6 separate regions of the Homo sapiens genome follow, and regions 2, 3, 4, 5 and 6 are each linked to region 1. Evidence: promoter capture Hi-C in 16 types of primary human blood cells and fetal thymus (Javierre and others, 2016). All regions are on one chromosome and are shown on one strand. Each heading gives the region's core, a stretch centred on a gene start or on the middle of the fragment in contact. The rest is flanking DNA. Distances are from core to core; before and after follow the strand shown. Region 1 holds the start of BRS3 (bombesin receptor subtype 3). Region 2 overlaps SLC9A6 (solute carrier family 9 member A6). Region 3 has its middle 62 kb from the start of RBMX. Region 4 overlaps SLC9A6 (solute carrier family 9 member A6). Region 5 has its middle 45 kb from the start of RBMX. Region 6 holds the start of RBMX (RNA binding motif protein X-linked).

Region 1 (2,909 bases), core at 144-2,643:
AGGCTTTGTAAAGCATCATTTTTAACATTTGGAGCCTCAAATTTTTTCATGTTTTTACAGTTATTCTACAATAGGAACACAGAAAAACAGAGTACTTGGACTGAAAATATCCTAACACAGAATCTGAACACCCTGACTGCAAGAGGATCTCACACGCTCTCTCCACAGAGCTCTAAAAGTCAACCAAGATTAATTTATTTCTCTGGAAATGATAATGTCACTGAATGCCTACAGAGAAAACAAGTAGAATTACGTGATGACATTACACTAAGTTACCAGGGAGTTGAAAACCTCACCGTTTTTCTGCCATTAGCTAATTTGATGAATTTCAAATAAATTAGATGCCTGTGTCTTTTTACCACTCTTCCAATATACAGTTATACATATGTGGTCAATTTCACACCTATCCTGGTTTTCATGTTGACTATATTGCACCACTAGGCTGCACTAATGTATAAAGCATGAATTTTTTTCCTTTACACCTGGAACAATTTGCTTTACTTAATAAACTGGAGAAAAATAAAAACCCCGTTCAGTATACTTCCGAGCAAACAATAAGAATAAATTATCCATAAAGCATGCAATTTCAACTTCTCCTCCGTGCTAACACAGAAATTTTAACATTCTTACACTAACTTTTATTTTAAATGCCACCAGATTTTCCAATCTCACATCCACGTTACAGAGTGTGAGAAAAGCAGAATAGTAGCCAGTAAATGCTAAGTACAAGCTTTCCTTTCTTTTTGCCCAATTTCACATCCTGGCAAATATAATGGAGAAAAGAAACTCACCTGTCAGCGCTGAGAATTGTTAATGTGAACACTGACACACCAACAGAAGTGAGCCGGATGAAAGAGAGCACCTTACAACCAATTCTTCCGAACAGCCATCCTTCTGCAAGGTAGTGAGTTGCATCCACTGGCACACAAGTTAGCAGAAGTAAAAGATCTCCAAAAGCCAGGCTGGTGATGAAAATATTTGGAACTGTTTGCATGGATTTGGTCTTGAAAAAGACTTTGATGAGAATAGCATTTCCAAGGATGCCCACTGAAATGATCACAGCATAAGTAATATAGATGGCACACAATGCTTCTATTCCTGGAGAGTTGTCCCCGCTCCATCCTTTATTTGTGTTATCGTTAGAAACCACAGAGCTTGATGATTCTGTGTCATTTGTGATTGAAATTAAAGTCTGATTAGGTGAGTGAGGCTGCCTTTGAGCCATTTCTTCTGAAGACTGTGTCTTTAATATTTCTTCTTCTCAGTTCAAATGCAGTTGATTGTCACGTCCAATGCCTACGTCTAGTAACGAGATGGTATTAGGAGAACAGAACAGAACAGAATGGGAAGAAAATCCAAGACATCCAGATACTCCTTTGCTTCAGTTCTGTGTGTCTCCCAGCATGCTTGGCTAAATGCTTACCCATCTGGCACTGAAGAGTAGGAGGTGGAGTTTTATTGGCGTGTCCTGTCATAAGGAGAGGGAGGGGGCTGGGGAAATGCTCTGCAGTTGCTTATTCTTCCCTGTTGGGGAATCTTGGGACCAACTAGACCCTATTAAATCGTCTTATTTATTATTAGAATCACCCTGTTTTCATATCTACCCAGGATGGTCTATATAGGTTTTGTCAATTTTTTTTAAGAAAAAAACCATTTATCCCCCTGCAATCACATGGTAGTCTAGTGCATTTTGTTTTACATGATAAATAAGTGTAGGTGTCCCCTGAAGCACAACCTTGAACCCACTCCTCAAAATTTAATATCAGAGAGATGGTGAAGCAACAGATCATTTACACTTCGACAGGGTTTATGTCACCTCCAAGGAGTGATCATTCAGGTCACTTGGGCTTAATACCTAGCTCTGTCACGTGGTAAACCCCAACTTTGCAGTTATCCAGGCTGTGCTGTACACTATCAAAACAACCTTTTTAATTTTTTTTTTTTTTTTGAGATGGAGTCTCACTCTGTCACCCAGGCTGGAGTGCAGTGGCTCGATCTTGGCTCACTGCAACCTCCACCTCCTGGGTTCAAGCAATTCTCCTGCCTCAGTCTCCCGAGTAGCTGGGATTACAGGCGCCCGCCACCATGCCTGGCTAATTTTTGTATTTTTAGTAGAGACAGGGTTTCACCATGTTGGCCAGGCTGGTCTTGAACTCCTGACCTCAGGCAATCCGCCTGCCTCAGCCTCCCAAAGTGCTGGGATTACAGGCATGAGCCACCACACCCAGCCAAAACAACCTTTTAAGAGATGAAAAATCCAGGCACAGCACCAGTTGCTTTGTCTCTAAATGTCCTAATAAAACCACTTTTTACTGTTTGACTGTCTGTTTTAATGCCATGTTTTCTTTTAAGGGGCTGTTTAGGATTTTTCTCTCTAGAAATGGTTAAAGGGAACCTAACCTGCCTTATTCCAAAACAAAACAATACAGAACATCACTGCTCAAGCTCCTGACACAAAAGAACTTTTAAGAATGAAAATCATCATTTGCAGATGAAGAAATGAAATAGGTGACTCCAGGGATGATGGGCATGTAGATGATGTTTACATCAACTGAAAGAAGTACACATTTAAGGCAACCACCTCAGTACCAGCCAGAGAAGCTACTTTTTACAGAAAACATAACCATGTGCTTTATATGTATGTGTTTGTGGTGGGGGCACTGTTTGGGAGCAGGAAGCTAGCAGTTGGAGTGTAGTTACTAATTGAAGCTGCTAAGAAATATTCTCTGAAATTATCAAATGCAATGCATAATCTCTCAGCTAGAAACCATGTAGTGAGGTGTTCATAAATATAACCATATTAGAAAGTAGTCTGGGGAGCGAAGTGAAAAAGAGCAAAGTATTTGGCTAGCTAATGAACAGGGGGAACAACAAAGGTTGTTCTTTATACTTAGTAGGGGCAATCAGTT
Region 2 (2,909 bases), core at 274-2,773, 500 kb after region 1:
CAGCCTGGGCAACAAAGTGAAACCCTGTCTCAAAAAAAAAAAAAAAGAAATTTGTTTTTCACCTCCATTCATCAATTTATAAGACTTAAACAATGCACTTCGCAAGTTTATTCCCAAAGCACATGACTGGCCAAACAATGCACATTTAACAAATTGAAAAGTCAATAATATTTGTAGGTTGATTGAGTTCTTCTACTTCTAAAAGATCAGATTTTAATTTTAAAAATCTGCTTCAAAATCAAAACATGGAATAGAAGTCCTGAATCTGGCACTATGACATCAAACAGATTGCTGGATCATCCTACTGACATTCAAATATGCACAATGTTCTAGGTACTGTAAAACTAAATTTTTTTTTTTTCTGAGACGAAATTTTGCTCTGTTGCCCAGGCTGGAGTGCAGTGGCATGATCTCGGCTCACTGCAACCTCCGCCTCCCGGGTCCAATCAATTATCCTGCCTCAGCCTCCCAAGTAGCTGGGATTATAGGCTCACACCAACACACCTGGCTAATTTTTGTATTTTTAGTAGAGATGGGGTTTCACCATGTTGGCCAGGCTCCTGACCAAGGTCGAACTCCTGACCTTGTAATCCATCCACCTCGGCCTCCCAAACTGCTGGGATTACAGACCTGAGCCACCATGCCCAGCCCTATAAAACTATATTGATCGACTATAATTGTTTAGTAATGGCTTTACTGATATCTAATTCAAACACCAAAAGTTTATCCTTTTAAAAACTGTACAATTCAGTGGTCTTTAGTGTATTCACAAAGTTGAACATCAATCACCACTATCTAATTCTAGAACATTTTCCTTCCCTCCAAAAAGAACCCCACACCTACTAGCAGTCACTCTCCATTCCCCCATGCCCGAATCCACAGCCCCTGGCAACCACTCATCTACTTTCTTTCTTTATGGACCTGTCTTTTCTAGACATTTCATATAAATGAACTCCTACAATATATGGCCTTTTGTGTCTGACTTCTTTCACTTAGCATATTTTCAAGGTTTATCTATGTTGTAGCATGCATCAGAACCTCATTTACTTTTACGACCAAACGATATTTCATTGTATGGACATACCTCAACTACAAATAAAACCCAAACTTCTGGAACTTTCCTTAACTCCATGCATAGTATACCACTACTAGCTGCATTTTACCTTCCTATTGCCTTTCATTCTGACTAGCCAGCCATTCTTTTAATACGTGAATGAGTGTACTATGCTAGGTAGGCCTCCAGGGTTCAGAGATGAAAACAAGGTCCCTCCTTCAAGGAAAACTCGGTCCAGTTGGTGAAAACAGACTGAATAAACAATCATAATGTCAAGGAAAACTCGGTCCAGTTGGTGAAAACAGACTGAATAAACAATCATAATGCTATATATATATATGTATACAAGGTATTATAAAAACAGAAAAGAGACAACTATGCAACCCTGGGGGAGTAAGACATTAGGGAAGTCTTTCCAGAGATGTCACCTGGGCAGGTAACAAACTAGAAGAAATGGGTATATTCCACGTAGGGGAATAGTAGTACATATCAGTCAAGGATGGAGACAACACAGCCCATCCAGTGAATCAAGTAGTTTAGTATGGCTGGCTTATAAAGTGACAAGAGTTGAGGTTTGAAAGATTGGCAGGAGTTGAATCATAAAAGATCTTATCTGTTGGGGAAGGGAATTTGAAGTTTATCCCAAAAGTAAAATGAAGTCATAGAAGGCAGAGGCTTGATAGCAGATTTCTACTTTAGAAAGACTGGTCTAGACTAAAGAGGGTCTAAAAGGCTAGATACAGGGCTACTGTAGGCATTCAGGCAATAAGAGTTTAGGTCCTAACCTAAGAGAGTACTGACAGGAGGCGAGAAGGATTTTTTGAAGGTATTATATTTTAGGAAGATTTAGTGACTGAGGAAGGGAGATGAAAGACTAAGAGGAACCTTAATTGATTTGGTAACCAGGTGGGTAAGTTGGCCTGAGCACCGAGGGGGATAACAAGGACATTCAATGAGGTAAGGAACATACACAGATGAACAGATTTACAGGGGAAAAGGCTACATTCAGTTTTGGACACGTTGAGTTGGATGTACTTGTGACACACGCATAGTTGAGTATGTGGTATCTGGAGCTAAAGCGAGGGGTCTCAACTGGAGATATACACTGTGCAGTCATAAGATGGTTGAAGTCAGATGTAGATGAGATCGCCAGGGGAGCAAGTAAAATGGGAAGAAGACTATGATATAGATCTGGGGTTTGATCTATTAACAGCCAACATTAAGGGGCTGCTAGAGGAGAAGGAGCTGATGAAGGAGTCTGAGAAGGAAAACCCACAGGAGTAGAAAAAAAAAGGAACCAGTGGTGGCAAAGTCAGGAAGAAAGGGAAAAAATTCATTTTTGAGGAGAAGGAAGTGATAAAAACTATCAAATGCTATAGTAAAGTCGAGTAAGGCAGGCATTAGAAGTATCCATTGGGTTTGGCAACAAGGAGGCCATAGGTGACCTTGATAAGAGCAGTTTCAGTGGAGTAGCAGGAGTGGAAACCAGACCCAAGTGAGAAGTGATGAAGCAGAAATGAGGAGGTATAAGAGCAGTCGTTGCCAGCCGGGCGCAGTGGCTCACGTGTAATCCTAGCACTTTGGGAGGCCGAGGCGGGTGGATCACTTGAGGTCAAGAGTTCGAGACCAGCCTGGCCAACATAGTGAAACCTCATCTCTACTAAAAATACAAAAATTAGCCGGGCGTGGTGGCAGGCACCTGTAATCCCAGCTACTTGGGAGGCTGAGGCAGGAAAGTTGCTTGAACCCAGGAGGTGGAGGTTGCAGTGAGTTGAGATCATGCCACCGCACTCCAGCCAGGACAATGGAGCAAAAACTCTGTCCAAAAAAAAAAAAAGGCAGTAGTTGCCCAGGA
Region 3 (2,909 bases), core at 211-2,710, 450 kb before region 1:
ATGCAGCAAAGATCATGTTAAGAGCTCTCACCGAAGTAGAAGCACTATTTTATTATAAACCTCTGGCCTTATATATGGGCTGCACAAGGCTTTATAGGCCAGTTTCAGAACTTTGGCTTTTACTCTAAGTAAGATGAGAAGTCAATGGAAGATTCTAAGCAGAGGATTGAAAAGAGCTGACATTTCCAAAGAAATGCTCTGAATACTGTATTGAGAACAGACCCCTAGAAAATAAGGGTAGCAGCAGGGAGACTGGCTAGGTTTTTGCAATAGTCCAAGTGAGGTAAAATGATATCTTGGACCAGATGATAGTGGTAGAGGAGTTGAGAAGTGGTGGATTCTGAAATATTTCAAAGGGAGAGAGCCACATGGTCTGTCAAAGGATTGGACTGAATAGGGGGTATGAGTGAAGAGTGAAAAAGAGGAATTAAGGGTGATGCCATGATTTGTGGCCTGAGCAACTGCAAAGATGGAGTTGCCACTTACTGAGATGGGAAAAACAACAGGGGAAGCACATCCAAGTGGTCATGTCCTAGCCAAGCGCTGTGGCTCATGCCTGTAGTCCCAACACTTTGAGAGGCCAAGGCGGGCAGATCATTTGAGGTCAGGAGTTCAGAACCAGCCTGGCCAACATGCTGAAACCCCGTCTCTACTAAGAATACAAAAATTAGCCAGGTATGGTGGTGCGCACCTGTAATCCTAGCTACTCAGGAGGTTGAGGTAGGAGAATCGCTTGGGCCTGAGGCAGGAGAATTACTTGAGCCCAGGAGGCAGAAGCTGCAATGAGCAGAGATCACGCCACTGCACTCCAGCCTGGTCAACAGAGCAAGACTCTGTCTAAAAAAAAAAAAAGACAAACAAACAAACAAAAAAAAACAAGCAGACATGTCAAATAGACAGATAAATATACAAGTCTAGAGATCTAACAGTCATCATGGTAACACCATGAGACAGGTAAGACTACCAAAGTATGAGTATAACTAAAGAAGATAAAAAGTTCAAAGACTGAGTTGAGTCTGAGGGCTCTCCCACATTAGGAGTTTACAAAAATGAGGAGGAGATTAAGAAGTGACCAGTAAGAAGTGACCAGTGAGACAGGAAACCAGGAAAGCTTGGTAACCTAAAACTCAAATGAAGCAAGTATTTTAAGAATAAGACGTCGGGTGTAGCGGCTCACACTTGTAATCCCCGCACTTTGGGAGGCCGAGGTGGAAAGATCAGTTGAGGCCAGGAGTTCAAGACCAGCCAGGGCAACATAGCGAGACCCCATCTCTACAAATAAAAATAAAAATACAGCCAGACATGGTGGTGCATGCCTGTAGTCCCTGCTACTCAGGAGGCTGAGGTGGGAGGATCACTTGAGCCCAGGAGTTCAAGGCTACAGTGACCTATGATGGCACCACTGCACTCCATCCTAGGTGACAGAGTGAGACCCTGTCTCTTAAAAAAAAAGAAAGAAAAGAAAAAGAGATGATTAACTATGGTAAAAGTCAGGGAAATTATTAGCCAGCCACAGTGCCTAAAATAAAACACAAGACTGTAGACCTAGCAAACAGCTAGGTCTAACTCACTTCCATGGCCTTGGGCAGCTTGTTTAATTCTGAAAAAGATAAATTATAACACAGTCCTTGCCCTCGGGGGGCCTATATAAATGACCTTTACAGCGATTAGATAAAAGTTTGATTGTATGTACACATAAACTATTTCTGTAGGCAGTGTAGAATAAATACAACTGTAGAAGATTATTTTCTTGGCTTTTTTCCTCTGAGTATGAGAATATGAGATGTGACTACAAAGCATTAAGCTTGATTTTCACATAGCTGGTGAGATTAGCTTCCTGTATGATCACACTTTGTTTACTACCTTTTTAACCAAATCCATTCAAATATGAGCAAGCAGCCTGAGTCAGACCTCACAGTCCATCACCTTAATTCTGTTTCCAAATATCAGAAGTGACATAAAAAAGCATGAGTGATTGTCCTTGACATTGGTAAGGCATTTCCTGGCATCTCTTAGAAGCTATGTTTACTCCTGTTATTTATAAATATGCCCTAAACCTTTTAATTCCTCTTTTATTTCTCGTTGGCAACACCTTGTAGAGATAAATAAGCTGCAATTTTTTTTTAATTTTTTTTTTTTGAGACAGAGTCTCACTCTGTTGCACAAGCTGGAGTGCAGTGGCTTAATCTCAGCTCACTGCAACCTCTGCCTCCCACGTTCAAGCGATTGGCATGAATCCTGCCTCAGCCTCCCGAGTAGCTAGGACTACAGGCGCACGGCCACCATGCCCAGCTGATTTTTTTATTTTTAGTAGAGACGGGGTTTCATCATGTTGGCCAGGCTGGTCTCAAACTCCTGACCTCAGGTGATCCGCCCGCCTCGGACTCCCAAAGTGCTGGGATTACAGGTGTGAGCCACCACGCCCGGCAAAATGTTTTCTAATTTAAATTGGAGCTATCTGTGTAGTGGTTTCTCTACAGTTGTACATAAATGTTTTTGCTATAAAATGAGCTATGTATAAAATACTACTCTATACCATAATAAAGATAGTAATACGTTGAAAAACAAAAAAAATCAAAGTTCATACAAATCACTCAGGGGTCTTGCTACAATGCAGATTGATTCATTAGATCCTAAATGAGGCCTGAGATTCTGTATGTCAGGTGATATCAATGCTGCTGATCTCAGAACACACTTCAAGAACTATTCCTCCAGGCCAGGCGCGGTGGCTTACACCTGTAATCCAATAACTTTGGAAGGCCGAGGCGGGTGGATCACCTGAGGTCAGGAGTTCGAGACCAGCCTGACCAATATGACGAAACCCTGTCTCTACCAAAAATACAAAAATTAGCCGGGCGTGTTGGCACATGCTTGTAATCCTAGCTACTTGGGAGGCTGAGACAGAATCG
Region 4 (2,909 bases), core at 304-2,803, 450 kb after region 1:
GTTCCTCTCCTGCTACAATCTGCCCCTCCCACACCAAAGGCCCCATTGTCTGCCAACCAGACTGAAGTGTGACAGCTGCCCAGACTCCTCGTGCTTTCTCTTACCTTCAGGTCCTTCTACATGACCCCTCTTTCCCTTCAAATGACTAACATCCTTTTATCACTTTTGCTCTGAAGTCTTCCTTGAGCTTCTAGGACTAGGTTAGCTGTCCTTCCTGTGTGCTTTCGTGGCATCCTATACTTGGCCCTCTCCCTGTAGTGGCACTTACCCTTGAGCTATAACTGTGTGTGTATCAATCTGCCCTCAAGAGGCTTAGAGTCTAGTGTGTGGCAGGAGCAGACCGATTCACATGTGGTGAAGACACAGGGTGAATGCTACGTAGTCCAACCACCTAATACAGTTTGGGGTACAGAGAAACATATCAAGCCCTCACTGCAGCTCCATAAGCTTTGGTTCTCATGGAAATATTACGACCAAAATAGTATACTTAAATAAGGTTCTACAAAAGGGAAAAGAATCAGGAATACATAGTCCCATATTGGCAAATAAAAAATGTGTGTATAGAAAAGTCTTTTCTTCTTTATGTTTCTGTATTATCTGAAATTTTATTATAATGAGTATATATTACTTTTAAAAAACAGAACAAGTCATTTTTTCTAAATGACTTTAAAGAGAAAGGATCATTCTAAATATTCACATTGATCTAGCATAAAACAGTCTGTCATTGATGCTCCTTGAGGGAAGTATATTCTCCAGCTTTCTAAATCCCATGTCTGTTTGAAAATTTTGAATTTGTCTAAGACCATCAAATAGACTGAGAAGACTATTAGACAAAATCTAAAAAGGAATTTAATCTGCTGTTGCTAGAAATTCCCCTAAATACTCAAAGACCAAAAAAAGTGTGAACTGAAAAATAAACGGCTGGGTATGGGTGGCACATGTCTATTGTCCTAGCTACTGGGGAGGCTAAGGCAGGAGGACTGCTTGAGCCCAGAAGTTTGAGGCCAACCTGGGCAACACAGCCAGAACCCATCTCAAAAACAAACAAACAAACTCATATCCACCAACCAGCCCAAATCCCTTCCTGTCTAATCTAGTTAGGACAGTAAGTCTATCTAACCAGTATCTATCACTTAATTCAGCAATACTCACAAGCTCTGTGGCTCCTTCACAGGTCCACAGGGGCTCTTCAGCACCTTCTAGTGTCTTTATTAAGTTTGAGGTTTGGGGCAATATCTATCAAATTTTAAAATGCACATGCCTTTTGACCCAGTGATTTTACCTTTAAAATCTATTCTATATACTTTTACATAGTTAGGTAAGTTTATATGTAAAAGAATATTCACTATAAGTATTGTTTATAATAGCAAAAAAGGAAATGACTGAAACATCTATCCATAAGAGACTGAATACATGAATTTTGCTACAGCTATGAAATGGAATAGGACGTAGCCATGAAAAGAGAAGGTAAGACATCTAACATACTCACATATAAAGGTATCCATGATGTGTCAGTAATTGAAAAAAAAAGCAAGTAATGGGACAATATGCCTATTATAATCCCATTTGTGTAAAACAATAACAAAGCCATATATACACATATTTATTTGCAATAAAATATATCAGGAAGTATCCACAGTGAGCCTATAATAAAGACTGCCTCGAGGACTGCAGGTAGGAGGAAGGCAACTTTGATTTTTCATTTTGTACATTCCATACTGTATGGATATTTGGCCATGAGCTTGCTAGTGTTATAACTAAAAAAAGCAGTTAACAAAGATAATATAAAAAATTACGTTTGGGCCAGGTGCAGTGGCTCATGCCTGTAATCCCAACACTTTGGGAGGCCAAGGTGAGTGGATCACTTGAGGTCAGGAGTTCAAGACCAGCCTGGCTGACATGGCGAAACCTCGTCTCTACTAAAAAATACAGAAAAATGAGCTGGGTGTGGTGGTGCACACCTGTAATCCCAGCTACTTGGGAGGCTGAGGCATAAGAATCGCTTGAACCTGAGAGGTAGAGGTTGCAGTGAGCCAAGATCGCGCCACTGCACTCCAGCCTGGGTGACAGAGTGAGACTCTGTCTAAAAAAAAAAAAAAAATTAAGTGTGATGGTTGTTATGGGTTAAATTGTGTCCCTCCCCAACCCCCCACCAAAAGATGTTGAAGTCCTAACCCCCAGCACCTGTGAATGTAACCTTGTTTGGAAATAGGGTCTTGTTTGGAAATAAGGTAGGCCCTGATTCAATATGACTGGTGTCCTTATGAATAGGAGAAATTTGGACACGGAAGTAGGCATGCACACAGGTAGAACCCCATGTGAAGATGAAAGTAGAGATACATAGTGATGCATCTGTAAGTCAAGGAAGGTCCAAGATAGCCAGGAAGCCACCAGGAGTTAGAAGAGAGGCCTGGAGCAGATTCTCCCTCACAGCCTAGAAGGAACTGACCCGGCCAACAACTTGACTTTGGATTTTAGCCTCCAGAAATAAGAGATGATAAGTTTCTATTGTTTAAGCCATTCGGTTTTGGTACTTTGTTACAGCTGCTCTAGGGAGCCTGTTGTGTTTCGCTACATTCCAAGGACACAGGTTTGTTGTGGACCTCTTCTGGCTTTTGGTGACAGCGAGTGGGTCTCTGGAATCCAAGAGCCAAGCTTCACTGCCTGAACCAACAGAGCTGGCTGACTTCTCTGCACAGTTATGTGGGTTAACAGGGCATGGTGGAAATGGAGACAATGTTTGAGAGGCGAGCCTGGGCAATGTGGAAGGGAGAGGAGGGGCAACATGGGGTGTGTGCCCCATCTCACAGGCACAGTCTGTCAGAAACATGCACTGACACGACATAACACAAAGCCGTAGGATGCTCCTCCCTGGCCCAGATGCCACCCCTACTCTGCCTACTCTCTCC
Region 5 (2,909 bases), core at 235-2,734, 440 kb before region 1:
AGCTGGGCATGGTGGCGCATGCCTGTAATCCCAGCTACTTGAGAGGCTGAGGCAGGAGAATCACTTGAATCCAGAGGTGGAGGTTGCAGTGAGCCAAGATTGTGCCACTGCACTCCAGCCTGGGCAACAAAGCGAGACTCTGTCAAAAAATAATAGTAAAATTAAAAAATAAATAAAAAGTGTAGACATAGGCTGAGTGTGGTGGCTCACGCCTGTAATCCCAGCACTTTGGGAGGCCGAGGCGGGTGGATCAAAAGGTCAGGAGTTCGAGACCAGCCTGACCAATATGGTGAAACCTCGTTTCTACTAAAAAAACAAAAATTAGCCAGGTGTGATGGCGCATGCCTGTAATTCCAGCTACTTGGGAGGCTGAGGCAGGAGAATTGCTTGTACACAGGAGGCAGAGGTTGCAGTGAGCCAAGATCATGGCATTGCACTCCAACCTAGGTGACAGAGCAAGACTCGGTCTCAAAAACAAACAAACAATATGTTGTACACAAGAGACATATCTAAAACAAAGAGATTCTGAAAACTTAAAAATAGAAGGATAAGCAAAGTTATACCAAGCAAATGCATACAAAAAGAAAGCAAGGCCGGACACGGTGGCTCACGCCTATAATCCCAACACTTTGGGAGGCAGAGGCAGGCAGATCACCTGAGGTCAAGAGTTCAAGACCAACCTGACCAACGTGGACAAACCCGTCTCTACTAAAAATACAAAATAAGCCAAGCATGGTGGCACATGTCTGTAATTCCAGCTACTCAAGAGGCTGATGCCGGAGAATCGCTTGAACCCAGGAGGTGGAGGTTGCGGTGAGCCAAGATTGCGCCACTGCACTCCAGCCTGGGCAACAAGAGTGAAACTCTGTCTCAAAAAAAAAAAAAAAAAAAAAAGGTGGCCTGATTCAGTCATTCCACAATGCAAGCATATATCAAAACAGCATGTTGTACACCGTAAATATAAACACTTTGTCAACTTTAAAAGTAAAAATTAAAATTAAAAATAAAACAGGCCGGGAACAGTAGTTCACGCCAGTAATCCCAGCACTTTGGGAGGCCAAGGCAGGTGGATGACCTGAGGTCGGGAGCTCGAGATCAGCCTGGCCAACATGGCGAAACCCCATCTCTACCAAAAATACAAAAATTAGCCATGCATGGTGGCAGGTGCCTGTAGTCCCAGCTACTCTGGAGGCAGAGTCAGGAGAATCACTTGAACCTGGGAGGCAGAGGTTGCAGTGAGCTGAGATTGTGCCAATGCACTCCAGCCTGGGCGACAAGAGCGAAATTCCATCTCAATAAATAAATAAATAAATAAATAAAAATATGTTTCTTAAAAAAGAAAATAAGGAGGTGGGACTTCCTTCTTGGCCCAAGACATGGTAGAATAACAAAGACCAGATTTACCCTCCTACTTACACAACTTTAAAAATGAGTAAAATATGTAAAGCAACAGTTTCCAAACATTGGACAAGAAATATAAGAGTGATCACCTAGGGAAGGGGAACAAATAAGATAAGCCCTACTATTGCCTCCAGCTTACTTCCTAGATAAAATTTCCAGGCTGTGACACAGGGAAAAGGTATCCATGCACAGCCCTGCAGTCTCCTAGGGTTGAGAAAACAAAGTTCAAAGTCCAGGGAGGCCAAAGGCACTAGAATTCATGGAGCAGAGGACCAGAGAGAACAGAGCTGCACACAGATAAGTTTCTGGAAATATGTAGAGTTTTCCTTATCTGGTCCGTACATGCGTGTAAGGTGTGTCTGTTATTGATATATTGCCTCTCAGCTCCAAATTCATGAGTTTTGCCCCCCATGAAAATAATTCAGACCCTTTAAATAGTTTACCTCTACAAACTGGCACTAAAGCAGGTTTGTCAGTAGAGGGCGCTGGAGAGACATCGCAAGGGAAAGGGTTTATTTCCTGGTTGATCTTGGCTCACTCCACAGGCTTCTGTTTTCTTTCAGCATGCTGCAGCCCCTAATGAATGAATGAACCCAGGTATCACAACAAAAAAGAGAGACAAAAAAAATCATGTGCCTCCTGATGAAAGAACACAACTGCCACCTCACCTTCTCAAAGAAGCCAAACCTGAATCTGATCAAGCCACTGGATCCAGCTGCCAATTTGCAGGAAATATAGGACACAGGAACATGCACAATGGATTGGATTGAATGATACAGGGATGGACAGATATGTGATAAATCAAATAGAGCAAAATGGTAATTGCAGAATATAAATGTTGGATAGATGAGTGTCCACTATATAATTCTATTTTTTTTTTTTTTTTTTTTGAGACAGGGTATCACTCTATCACCCAGACTGGGGTGCAGTTGTGCTATCACAGCTCACTGTAGCCTCAGCCTCCTGGGCTCAAGCGATCCTCCCACCTCAGCCTCCTGAGTAGCTGGGACTACGGATGCATGCCACCATGCACCAATTTTTAAAAACTTTTTGGAGAGATGGGGTCTTGCAATATTGCCCTGGCTGATCTCCAACTCCTGGGCACAAACGATCCTCCCACCTTAGCCTCCCAAAGTGCTGCGATTATAGGCGTGAGCCACTGCGCCTGGCCCACCCAAGTTTTCTGTTTGAAAATGCTCATAGTAAAATGTTGACAAAAGACATATAAAAAGTCAAGTTTAAACTATACTGTGGCTAGGCGTGGTGGCTCACACCTGTATTCCCAGCACTTTGAGAGGCCAAGGTGGGCAGATCATCTGAGGTCAGGAGTTCAAGAGCAGCCTGGCCAACCTGGTAAAACTCCATCTCTACTAAAAATATGAAAATCAGCCAGGCACGGTGGTGTGCGCCTGTAATCCCAGCTATTTGGGAGTCTGAGGCAGGAGAATCACTTGAACCCAGAAGGTGGAAGTTGCATGAACCGAGATCGCGCCACTGCACTCCAGCCT
Region 6 (2,909 bases), core at 184-2,683, 390 kb before region 1:
TTTTTAAAATATGAGATTTGGGACATACTATACTAAAAAAAGTATTCGTTATCTGAAATTTAAACTTAACTGGGCGTCCCTTTTTTTTTTTTTAGACGAAGTCTCGCTCTGTTGCCAGGCTGGAGTGCAGTGGTATGATCTTGGCTCACTGCAACCGCCGCCTCCTGGGTTCAAGCAATTCTCCTGCCTCAGCCTCCCGAGTAGCTGGGACTACAGGCACACGCCGCCACGCCCGGCTAATTTTTTTATTTTTTATTTTTATTTTAGTAGAGACGGGGTTTCACCATGTTGCCCAGGCTGGTCTCAAACCCCTGAGCTCAGGCAATCTGCCCGCCTCGGCCTCCCAAAGTGCTAGGATTACAGGCATGAGCCACCGCGCCCCGGCCGCGTCCCATATTTTTATTTAAAATTTTTTAACAGCTTCGCAGAATAAATTAGCGTCCCGCATTTTCTTTTTTATTTTGAGACGGAGTCTCGCTCTGTCGCCTGCCCAGGCTGGAGTGCGGTGGCGCAGTCTTGGCTCACTGCAACCTCCGCCTCCCGGATTCTCCTGCCTCAGCCTCCCGAGTAGCTGGGACTACAGGCGCGTGCCACCACGCCTGGGTAATTTTTTGTATTTTTAAAAAGAGACGGGGTTTCACCGTGTTAGCCAGGATGGTCTCCATCTCCTGACTTCGTGATCCACCGACCTTGGCCTCCCAAAGTGCTGGGATTACAGGCGTGAGCCACTGCACCCGGCCTGGTATTTTCATTTATTAAATCCGGCATCCTTACCCACAGGCCTGACTCTTGTCTTTTCCCTGGAGTTGTATTTTCCTGGCCTAGCCCAGAGCCCACCATTTACAAGGTGCTCAGTAATTGTTCTATATGAATGTACTATCTGCATGCTGTTTTGTACGTTTTTTACTCATCTGAAATTTACATGTATTTATCAGAAATTCCCACACTCACTAAAAACACTTGTTAAAGACAATTTTTGAAAATATATTATATTGCCAAAACTTCTTTGTTTTCCGTTTCTGCAAAATTGGTATAGTAGGAGTATCTACCCTCATCACATTTTGACAATTAGAAGAGTTAATGGAAAAGTAAAAGTAAAGTTTTGCACCGTGCCCGGCCCACTAGGACGCTCAATAAACTTCAGTTCTTTATTAAAGGAAGCCTGTGCACCATTTTAGCGTAAAGCAAAAAAAGCGCGTTTGTAAAGAACGGGTGGGGGTAGAGAAAACGGTTAGAAAGGTCTGTCGACCCAACACCGAGGGCCCGGGAAAAAGGGAGGAGAGAAGGGTGAATGACAGAGGAGCCAGCCAATGGGGAGACTGGGAACTACTTCCCCCCTCCCTTTGCGTTTCAAATTCTAAGCTCCGTTTCCATCCGGGTCCTTCAGCCTCGTTCCCGGGCAGTATAAAGTTTGCTGTCTCCTTTGTTCGCCCTCGTTGCGCAGTAGTGCTAGCGGCTTCGCGGTTCGGTCCTCGCACCCGGCAGCCGCCACTGGTGCTGAGCTGCTAGGAAGCCCCTATCGCCGAGCTCGTTGGAGCTTGAACCCATTGTCACCCCTCCGGTACGTGTCTCCTTTCCTCAGTCCGTTTTTCGTGACACTCTCCCCGTGTTAGGACTGGGGATTATATCTCCCTGGAGATGGGGGTGGCGGGCGCCATTTTAAGAACCCAAAGGTTCCGACCTATTTAAATAAAGCTGAGGGGGTCGAGGGAAAACAAATGAGGGGGCCCGTTTGGTTGTATGCTTCTCGAGAAAGTTTGGCTGCCATCTGCGGGAGTTGGTAGCGGAGGTCGGGGCTTTGTAGGCTGGAGCGGGGCGAGGAGCGACCGCACCACGGCGATACCTGCATTGGTATGGCGCTGGCGCTAATGATGGGCATGTGGACTTCCATGCGGGCTGCGGGCTTCGTATTCATTGGCGGCCCCGGAGAAGAAGCCCTCTGAATGTTCCCAGCCAATGTTGGTGGTAAAAGTTAGTCCCCTGACCAGTGTCGGTGGTTCTGGGTTGAATCCAAGTGTCGCCATTTTGTCTTTTACACGCGGTTTTTAATGACGAGTTTTAATTAGGTTCCGCTGCAGTCACGGAGTGTCGAGTGTTAGTGTGTGCGTCCGCGTTCCGTTACTTAATAGCAAACGATGTTGACGATTTGTTTTTATCTTTTTGGCCGGATAGTAGAATTTTCGGTAGGGCGGGGGCCGGTGAAGAAGAGGGGCGGCATAACTTGGCTTAAACTTCACATTTCTCCTTGGATTTAGTAGGGAATCCTAATGAGGAAAAGAGGAGTCGTTGGAAGAGGGCTTGGTGTTAAGGTCCTGTGTCTAGCCTGTGACCTTGGGAGTCTTTTAAAACCATCGTTAGGAAGGGTGTGATGAGTAATTGAATCTTTCAAAGGCAAGAGGACTGGAACTAAAAGTTGCTTTTTCAAATGTTAAGCAGCTGTTGCTTAAGAACAGCTAAGGGTGATCAAGGGTAGTGGTAAAAGTTAAGTTGGCCCTTTTAACCAGTTTTATGTAAATTGCAGTGTTACTAAACTACTTAGTTCAAATTGCTTCCTACTGTGGCTGAGGCTTAGCTCGTTATCGTTTTCTTTAGTTATTAAGGAACAATGGTTTTAGTGGAAAATATGAGAAATGTGCGAAAGTAAAAGTGTCCAATAAACTTGAGGAACTTTTTGCAGTGAGGTAATACTATTCCTTTTCAACAGACTCACCGGCCCAAAAAAAAAAAAACATGGTTGAAGCAGATCGCCCAGGAAAGCTCTTCATTGGTGGGCTTAATACGGAAACAAATGAGAAAGCTCTTGAAGCAGTATTTGGCAAATATGGACGAATAGTGGAAGGTGAGTTGTCTGGCAGTACAGGCTGGGCTATTATAATTAAAATATAAGCTATGATGAATTTGATTGCATT

Evidence for each region. Contacts are between HindIII fragments. The CHiCAGO score rates a contact against its expected background, and 5 or more counts as called.
Region 2: a contact is called between a fragment that was not itself captured here and the fragment with the promoter of BRS3 in region 1, in 1 of 17 cell types (naive B cells). The highest score is 5.6, in naive B cells.
Region 3: a fragment that was not itself captured here is called in contact with the fragment with the promoter of BRS3 in region 1 in 3 of 17 cell types (activated CD4 T cells, non-activated CD4 T cells and total B cells); the score reaches 10.0 in activated CD4 T cells.
Region 4: a fragment that was not itself captured here is called in contact with the fragment with the promoter of BRS3 in region 1 in 2 of 17 cell types (activated CD4 T cells and non-activated CD4 T cells); the score reaches 7.1 in activated CD4 T cells.
Region 5: a fragment that was not itself captured here is called in contact with the fragment with the promoter of BRS3 in region 1 in 2 of 17 cell types (non-activated CD4 T cells and neutrophils); the score reaches 5.6 in non-activated CD4 T cells.
Region 6: a contact is called between the fragment with the promoter of RBMX here and the fragment with the promoter of BRS3 in region 1, in 9 of 17 cell types (naive CD8 T cells, neutrophils, naive B cells and 6 more). The highest score is 10.1, in naive CD8 T cells.

Annotation. Positions count from the first base shown.
Region 1 is chrX:136,486,431-136,489,339 of GRCh38, reverse strand. It overlaps BRS3 (bombesin receptor subtype 3), which reads right to left and starts at 1,393. Exons shown (of 3, transcript NM_001727.2): 1 at 792-1,393. The coding sequence starts at 1,225. The HindIII fragment of the contact is 2,387 bases long and covers 733-2,909 here.
Region 2 is chrX:135,991,245-135,994,153 of GRCh38, reverse strand. The region is part of intron 2 of SLC9A6 (solute carrier family 9 member A6); the gene reads right to left. Among named protein-coding and RNA genes, the nearest start is that of SLC9A6, 7.3 kb to the right of the region's middle. The HindIII fragment of the contact is 6,390 bases long and covers 1-2,909 here.
Region 3 is chrX:136,940,815-136,943,723 of GRCh38, reverse strand. No RefSeq gene overlaps it. Among named protein-coding and RNA genes, the nearest start is that of RBMX, 62 kb to the right of the region's middle. The HindIII fragment of the contact is 693 bases long and covers 1,114-1,806 here.
Region 4 is chrX:136,041,370-136,044,278 of GRCh38, reverse strand. All of the region lies in intron 17 of SLC9A6 (solute carrier family 9 member A6), which reads right to left. Among named protein-coding and RNA genes, the nearest start is that of SLC9A6, 57 kb to the right of the region's middle. The HindIII fragment of the contact is 2,208 bases long and covers 450-2,657 here.
Region 5 is chrX:136,924,315-136,927,223 of GRCh38, reverse strand. No RefSeq gene overlaps it. Among named protein-coding and RNA genes, the nearest start is that of RBMX, 45 kb to the right of the region's middle. RefSeq lists an enhancer at 1,867-2,006. The HindIII fragment of the contact is 6,538 bases long and covers 1-2,909 here.
Region 6 is chrX:136,879,249-136,882,157 of GRCh38, reverse strand. RBMX (RNA binding motif protein X-linked) reads left to right here and starts at 1,433. Exons shown (of 9, transcript NM_002139.4): 1 at 1,433-1,561; 2 at 2,705-2,839. The coding sequence starts at 2,731. SNORD61 (small nucleolar RNA, C/D box 61) reads left to right here and starts at 2,887; the gene lies at 2,887-2,909. RefSeq lists enhancers at 1,310-1,908, 1,578-2,037, 2,048-2,107, 1,909-2,508. The HindIII fragment of the contact is 13,799 bases long and covers 1-2,909 here.